3 separate regions of the Homo sapiens genome follow, and all the other regions are linked to region 3. Evidence: promoter capture Hi-C in 16 types of primary human blood cells and fetal thymus (Javierre and others, 2016). All regions are on one chromosome and are shown on one strand. Each heading gives the region's core, a stretch centred on a gene start or on the middle of the fragment in contact. The rest is flanking DNA. Distances are from core to core; before and after follow the strand shown. Region 1 has its middle 22 kb from the start of POU1F1. Region 2 has its middle 1.0 Mb from the start of EPHA3. Region 3 holds the start of EPHA3 (EPH receptor A3).

Region 1 (2,700 bases), core at 103-2,602, 1.8 Mb before region 3:
GTATTGAAAGCCAGAGAATTACAAATGAAGCAAGAAAAGAAATATCCAAGTTATGTAGCAGAAAGGATGCAGAGAGGGGTACTGTGACCTTTGGTTCATGGCAGGCACATGGATGACTACATTAAGGGAGACAGCAAATATTCCAAGTACTAAATGTTTTCATGGCAGCACTGTGCAACTAGAGCACAGCATAAAGACATGAGCGTTTCTAGAATCCCCTCCGAAAAACGCTCAGAAACGTGACTTTATAAACTTTGCCTGTTACAAAATTTCACCTTCAGGGTGCATCTGCTTTGCCATTTCTCCCCTACTTTATTTTTCTGCCCCAGGAAAAGAACAGTAAACTGTTATCCAAAATATGTTTGGAAGGATGAGTTAAACAAAATTAAGAGCCAATTGCTGAGAGTTAATCCAGAGTGGTAAAACTTTTATTTCATTTATTCAATAAAAACAAACAAAGTTTCTAAGCAGGGATCTGTCATTCCTGGCCTCTCCCCATACAAACACTCTAGAGTTAAATTATAAGCCTTTTGTAAGCTGGCACCAATACTTCCATTCTAATTATTTTTATTTTAAATGCAGGTTTACATTTCTGTTAATTGTTTAGGTGATTTCCATGAATAAAAGAAATTAGAGAACTTGAGAGGGGAAGAGAGAGGCCTGTATTGCAGGCTACTCTGACTGTAGCATGCAGTGATCATTCACCCACAGACTCAGGAAATACAATGGAAAATTGATTAAAGGCATGTTTATTATTGATGAGTGTGCATCGCACAAATTGCGTTCAAATAGTCTTAAAAATTCTTAAAATGCTTTTATATAAAAAATTTAGAACAATTTCAAACAAAAAGTTGAATTAAAAGCAATTCTTGTACCTAAAGTCAACTCCTCATTAGAAACTTTTGCTATTACAAACGTTTTCCAGGTCTTGGATGGACACTTTTACTGCATTTTTAAATGAATTTTTAAAAAGTAAAATTCAAATTAGCTAAAGTAACTTTACGTACTTTGCATACAGTACATTACTTAACTTTCTAGATTCTCACGGTCCACTTTCATACTATGCCCACTATGTTTGCTTTTTCCTCCATTATACTGGCAATTTCTTTAATTACACCAGCAGGTGGCACTATGATACACTGAACCAGGGAAAACAAAATGAATTGTTAACATTTCGCTGGGACTATTGATTGCTGTCAGGAAAATCAACTTCTAAAGTCAAGTCATATTTTAATATTTTTCTTTATTAAAACCTGCAAATAAAAAGTTAAAGCTTGACTTCTGGGTACTTTTATGAATTATACAGAGATGATGAAAGGTATATATCTGTTTCTTCAGAAAATTTGGAGCTATGCAAAAGAGGAGCACCCAGAATACACATTGAGTGTGTTTCCAGGGCAAATCTGCCTAAGATAAAGGCAGATATTTATGAAAAGCTTTAAAGTGGCATTTGCTTAGAAGGTTCCAAATGTACTTATTTATTAATAAAAAAAATTATACTCCATAATGAAACTGTTTAAAATCAACTCTGAATCATCAGTAAATGATAATTATTTGTTTCAATTTTCAAGAAAAATGTAACAACTATTTATTTTATTGTTTTATCTAATCTTACCACTGAAACCATCAATACATGAACGATTATAATATTTTTAAAACAAAGTTATGCTGTACTGCAAAGTATTTTCAAAATTTGCAGTACCAAAGATCACATTATATATGTTTGCTAGCATAAGTTTTGCTGAATATCAGAAAGTGTTTAAGGAAAATCTACTCTACTGAGGGAATATTGCTTTATTTACTTTATAAACTTGTATCTCTACGTACAATTGAAATAAGATATATGTTTTTAGTTTAATATATTCTCACCAACACCCTAGAACAACACACTAGGAAAACTCTTTAGGCAGCCAAATCTAGGCCACCACTCATTTTGTAAATAAAGTTTTACTGGAACGTAGCTATGTATGTTCATTTGTGTATTGTCTATGAATGTTTCACACCAACAGCTGAGTTGAACAACTGTGTTATAGATGGGCTGGCCCACACAATCCAAAATACTTATCTGCCCTTTACAAAACGGTTTGCCAACCTAATTCTTTTTTTTTTTTTTTTTTGAAACGGAGTCTCGCTCTGTCGCCCAGGCTGGAGTGCAGTGGCGCGATCTCAGCTCACTGCCAGCTCCGCCTCCTGGGTTCACGCCATTCTCCTCCTGCCTCAGCCTCCTGAGTAGCTGGGACTACAGGCGCCCGCCACCACGCCCGGCTAATTGCTTTTGTATTTTTAGTTAGAGACGGGGTTTCACCGTGTTAGCCAGGATGGTTTGGATCTCCTGACCTCGTGATCCGCCCGCCTCAGCCTCCCAAAGTGCTGGGATCACAGGCGTGAGCCACCGCACCCGGCTTGCCAACCTAATTCTAAAATACAAGTTTGATTTATTTTTTTTCCTTTCAAATTACGTAAAGAAATTGCATGAATAAAAAGTACAATAATAATCTAATATATGCTTGTGATTGCTCTCTACCAATTGTTATACAAATAATTAAATGAAACATCAAAATTGATTAATTAATACTGAATTCTTTAGACTTCAAATAATTTTGGATGGATATCCCATGAGACACAGGGGATACAAATAGTTATAACACTCTGTTACTCATATGCAGGAGCTTATAGTGTTTTTGCAGAGGTAATATACTT
Region 2 (2,858 bases), core at 337-2,836, 1.0 Mb after region 3:
AAATAAAATTTGTCTCAACACCACAAGCCATGAGACCAGGAGATATGTCAAATCCTGTTTAAACATGTCCATATAGATATCATTGGATGACGTAATTGATTTGGACTTGCAATTTAAAAAAAAATCCTTTGAAAGCTTCTATGGGATTAGAATAATTTTTTTCATTTTTCTCCACAGATGCAGCATAAAATATACCAGAAACCTAAACCACCGAATCTTTCACATCTGTTTTTCCTACTTTAAACATCAAAGACTTCAATTTTTTTTTTCTTTTTCGTTTCTGTTCTCTGTATAATACTGTAAAGAGCAGTGTGTAAATGTCATTGACTAAGGTTGATAAAGTAAGCACTGATAATAAACTTTTCTGTATTCTCAGAATTCATATTTTAATTTTTCATACAACTAATGAAACAACAACTAATGGAACAACATTTTATAAGAAATAAATATCTACAAGATAAATTTTTAAATATTTTAAAAAATATTAATTTCGAAGATTTTAAATCTAGCAGAAAGGTAGAAAAATAATAAGTTTCATATACCCATTGTGATGGTTAATTTTATGTGTGAACTTGGCTGGGCCACAGTGTCTAGATATGTGGTCAAACATTATTCTGGATGTTTCTGTAAGCAAGTTTTTGGATGAGATTAATGCTTAAATCCATGAACTTTGAGTAAAGCAGATTGTCCTCCATGATGTGGGTGGGCCTCATACAATCATTTGAAAACTTGAAATGAACAAAAGACTGAGCTTTCCCCAGCAAATGGCCTTCAGACTTCACCTGAACACTGGCCCTTCTCTGGTCCACCCCGCGTATTTTGGACTGGCTGGTAAAGTCTCCATAATCATTTTAGGCAATTCTTTAAAACAAAATTATCTTAATATAAATCTCTCTCTCTCTCAGTCTATATATATATATACACACACACACACATAAATATGTGTATATATATGTACATATATATACACACACATAGATATGTGTATATATACACACACGTATGTGTGCATATGTGTATATATGTATATATAGGTGTATATATACGTATATATGTATATATAGGTGTATATATACGTATATATGTATATATACACACATACATTCGTTTGGTTCTGTTTCTCTGGAGAACCCTGAGTAATACATTCATCATCACAATTAACAACTGGCAATTACTATATTATTTAATCTATTTTTGTGTTATAATTTGGAGTAAATATAGACATCATGATATTTAAGCCCTAAATACAACACCACATCACTATTTGTAATCCTTAAAGATAATGTTTTCCTGTATAAGAAAACACCATTATTGCACTTAACAAACTTAATTTTTTGTACCATTTAATACTCATTTCATCTTGAAATTCTCTCAAAATTCAAAAGAAGTCTTGAAGCCAATTAGAACAAACATTGTGCTGGAGTGTGATGCAACATAATACTTTATAGGTGATGCTATGTACCTCATACTGCATCACAATAAGACATACATCACATCTGCAATATTAGTGATGCTAACATTGGATTCTCAGTTGATGGGGTGACAGCTTTATCCCTTCTCTATAAAAGTATATCTTTTTCCCTTGGTGACCAACAAGTAATATTTGTGATGATATTTTTACATCTCATGAATATCTGTAGCAATCTTTCACCTAATAGTATTTATCACTTGTTAATGATTATTGCCACAATCAAATATTTTATTAGAAGTTGCAAACAAAGTTAGCAAAATATATAATAATAATTTATTATAGAATTACAAAAGGGCCAGTTTTACTCCCCATATCTTCCTAATTTGTTCAACTCTAAACACACTGGCATGAAATTTTAAGATGTCATAGCTAGGGAATTACTCTAGGATAAAACAGAACCTCCTTTAAGATTTAGTTTGTGTAGTATGAAGAAAGTCTAGTAATAAGAATATTGATGTTCAGAATTCCCAACCCCCATATCACATTTTTTTAAATTACTAAGATACATTATATGAAATTTTCTGATTTAACGAGGAACGGATAATGGATAAATTATGCTTGGCAGTGCAAACCAAAGATCTAATAGCTTGAATTATTTTTACAAAGACCTCATCAAATGACATTTAATGTATGTAACCAGCTAACTTAACACTGTTTTTACTTATTGTCATGCATTTTTGCAGAATTTTGTAAAGTTTTAACCTTTTCTTTTCCCATGTGTTTCTCATATTCACTTATAATCAGAGGCTCTAAAACTCTGAGTTTTACTTCTTTGGTGTTAGATTTTCTTCACCTTTTTCCTACCACTGCATATCTTCTGCATATGTAAATTTACTTTCAACGTTACTATGTCTGTGAAGAAGGAACACCCATTGAGCAAGAATGGAAAATATATTAAACATAAGGGATATAGGGAATTTAGAAATTAACATTCTGATAGAGACAGAAGATGCTGGAGCAATACTGGAAAAAAGCCAGTTCTGTCAAAGTTTTTGGTCTGCACTAGTAGATGGTAGAGGTTTAACTAAGATCCCAATAGACGTTTGAACTCAGGATACTTATTCAAACTCAATGTGAACCCTTTGAGGCTGACTCATTGCTAATATTTTTCCATTTCAGGGTAAGATTTCCCACTGACACTAACCAACACAACCTCAATGTGGGTAAGTGGAATAGGAAGTTCCAGATCACTGAACTCTTGTAAAATGACTTATTTATTGTTTTTACTTAATTCCTCAGACATGCTTTGTGGGTTTTTTATTATTATTATTAGATTTTTTAAGTTCTATTTTCCATCCAGTGGCCCTGATCTTCTTAGAAAAATCCTGAACAACAGGGACAGCTGTTAAAAGAATGAGCTCACTAATTATTCTCATATTGGAAAAAT
Region 3 (2,877 bases), core at 106-2,605:
CACCCCAGTCATCAAACTATTATCTGGCACCATTAACTTAAATTCAAGTGAAAATTGTGTTCTCTAACTAAAAACATTGAGTTTGTGGACTGAATACATTATTAGCAAGGGCTTTTCAAACTTTCATTTAAGTTTCATTATCAAGAGCTCTAAAATTGATCACTGATCTTAAGATTATCAACATACCTTTATTTTCTGAAGTTGTGAGAGGAATATAATAATCTTGTTTTCTTTTTAGTATAAGAAGAGATAGATGGGCGGAAGGATATCTGAGTAACCATTTTCTGGGAGATATTTTAAAGATAAGTGATGCTGGTTATTAAAATATAAATTACAAAATTGTTTGGCTGAACTAGATTGCAATAGGTTGTTCAGCAATGGGATTGGAAATAACAGAGACCATTGATAGTCATGGTGTAAAATAAGTGAGAAAGTACGAGGACATTATTATTTAGCTTTTGGATTTGGAATGTTAAAGAATAAGAATACCCCAATATTATTAGACTATCAGTGGTTGAAAGTTGAATGGAGGAGCTGTGAATTATGCATTGTTTCTCTTGCAGAACCCAGAGATCCTAATGTGAGATGGTGAGGGAGGGGGATATGTATTATTAAGAAATTTAGGTTTGATCTGTATTACTTTTACAACACAGAACGAGAAAAGAATGTAGACCTCCGGCTGGGGTTAGACTTGCTCCCTTCCGTAAGATGATGAAGGTCAACTTCCCTGTTTGAAAAAAAACAAAGTATGCTCTATGTGCGCGGAAAATCACTGTGCCAGATCTAGTAAAAAGCCACGATACCATTGGGTGTGGAAATGCAGAGACCCTCTGATTCAGGCTGTGTATTAGTGTCTTTCTGAATCACAAAGAACTCATGGAGAGTTATGATCACATTGAACACAGTAAAGGAATAACTATAATCATTTTTTTCAATTATACAAACATGATTGACTTTTTAACGAAAGACTGCTATTCTTTCAAAACACACGTTTCTCTCGCATTTCAGTTCCTTTTGCACTCACATTGCCATATGATACTCCTATCAAGGCTGTGATTTCTTCGGTGAATTAAGCAACAGAGCATGGATAGCAAACAATAAAACAGCTACTTTTCATGCAACACAAAAGAGGGAGCATTTTTCTCAGCACCGCGGCCTCATCACATCTTCTGTGTTTCCTGTCCCATGGGCGACGCCCCCACTCCCACCCGGTCTCCTTCCCGAGCAGCTCTGGGCTGCAGAGCCAGCTGCGTGCCATCCCGCTCTGCTTCAGCGCACGCTGAAGACGGCACTAGGACCCAGGGAAGTCCCCGAGCGGGGTTCGCGGAAAGGCAGCCAGACTCCTCCTTATCTCCAGTGTCAAACTTGACATCAGCCTGCGAGCGGAGCATGGTAACTTCTCCAGCAATCAGAGCGCTCCCCCTCACATCAGTGGCATGCTTCATGGAGATATGCTCCTCTCACTGCCCTCTGCACCAGCAACATGGATTGTCAGCTCTCCATCCTCCTCCTTCTCAGCTGCTCTGTTCTCGACAGCTTCGGGGAACTGATTCCGCAGCCTTCCAATGAAGGTAAGCCAGGTACCGCGACGCACGGAGCTCTGCCCCGCGGGGCTCACGCTCTTCAAAGCACGTTCTCACCGAAGCCTTGCACGTCGGGAAGGTGCCTCCGAATAGAGCAGTTTGCTCTGAGAGTGAAGGAAAGATGTGCCTTTTTTTTTTCCAACTGTCTTCTAAAACACTTCAGGAGATAATTTTAGATGGTCTAAACTTTGAAAATGTGTTTTTAATCTGACACCATTTCGAGCAATTACCTTGTTTGCCAATTTGAGCAGAAAGAAAGAAAGAAAATCCTCCAGCGTTGCAACCCAGTTATGTTAATTGCCAAATAGCCAAGGCAGTATTTTATTTTCTAATTATGACCATGTGGTACTCCGAGAAGTTTGAAAGAAAATTCAGCCTTCCTCTCTAGACTCTTTAGTATGTTTAAAGGTAATGACAGGTTGTTCCTACTTGGGATCATGGCATTTATGAATGGACTAAAGGGAAATCAGAGTTTGTCGAAGCGGAGGTGCGTGTTTATGGTGCAAGGGCTGTGTTGAAGTTGTGTGTATCCCGCCAGGCAATGGTTTGCTCTATGGTACAGGTTCTAAAGAGCAGCATATGCCACATTAACGTAAGTAATATTTGCAAGAATTACAATAAGCTTAGGTTGGATTCTCTTTGTTTAAAGGCTTATATACAAATAGGAGAATGTATTTAATGAATAGTGGATAGCTCCTGGGAAGATATAGTAAATAACTGAATAGTAGATTAAGAGAGAATGTTCATATGCAGCAAATGGCATTTCCTTGATGTTGTGTTATTTATTATCCTTGTAATGAGCATTAATTCCTTTTCAGTGGGTTAAAGTGCAAACCTAATGTTAAGGACACCAATGTGTTCTATAAGATTGTGTACTTAATACATACATTTTCTTTCTCCTGTATTCCTTTTGTGATCTATTCTTGTGAATACAGTCACTAACTCGTAAAACAAACTTCTCTAAATAATTGATTAGTGTAAAGCCACACTTACAACATTAATTTCCTCTTAGTGATTTTGAACTTATAACAGTAACATTTAGCAATTTATTTTGCAAGTTAACAATACCGAGCAACTGATGTGCAAACATCATGTTATATACATCACTCCTTAGAAAATATATTGTCAAGCCAATACTGTTGTATATGTACCTTAATTTTAAAAACACGAGTAAAAACAAAATACTTAGAAAGTTTTTTATTAAATGTAATAACTGCCTGATACTCGGTGACCTACTTTCACTGCTAATAGAGCAGTAATTTATCTCCTTCCTTACTGACTGCCTTTATCAATT

Evidence for each region. Contacts are between HindIII fragments. The CHiCAGO score rates a contact against its expected background, and 5 or more counts as called.
Region 1: a fragment that was not itself captured here is called in contact with the fragment with the promoter of EPHA3 in region 3 in 3 of 17 cell types (M1 macrophages, total B cells and naive B cells); the score reaches 6.5 in M1 macrophages.
Region 2: a fragment that was not itself captured here is called in contact with the fragment with the promoter of EPHA3 in region 3 in 1 of 17 cell types (M2 macrophages); the score reaches 6.2 in M2 macrophages.

What each region holds. Positions count from the first base shown.
Region 1 is chr3:87,297,184-87,299,883 of GRCh38, forward strand. No RefSeq gene overlaps it. Among named protein-coding and RNA genes, the nearest start is that of POU1F1, 22 kb to the left of the region's middle. The HindIII fragment of the contact is 163 bases long and covers 1,272-1,434 here.
Region 2 is chr3:90,129,807-90,132,664 of GRCh38, forward strand. No RefSeq gene overlaps it. Among named protein-coding and RNA genes, the nearest start is that of EPHA3, 1.0 Mb to the left of the region's middle. The HindIII fragment of the contact is 2,907 bases long and covers 134-2,858 here.
Region 3 is chr3:89,106,266-89,109,142 of GRCh38, forward strand. It overlaps EPHA3 (EPH receptor A3), which reads left to right and starts at 1,356. Exons shown (of 17, transcript NM_005233.6): 1 at 1,356-1,571. The coding sequence starts at 1,484. RefSeq lists an enhancer at 1,198-1,337. The HindIII fragment of the contact is 3,372 bases long and covers 1-2,203 here.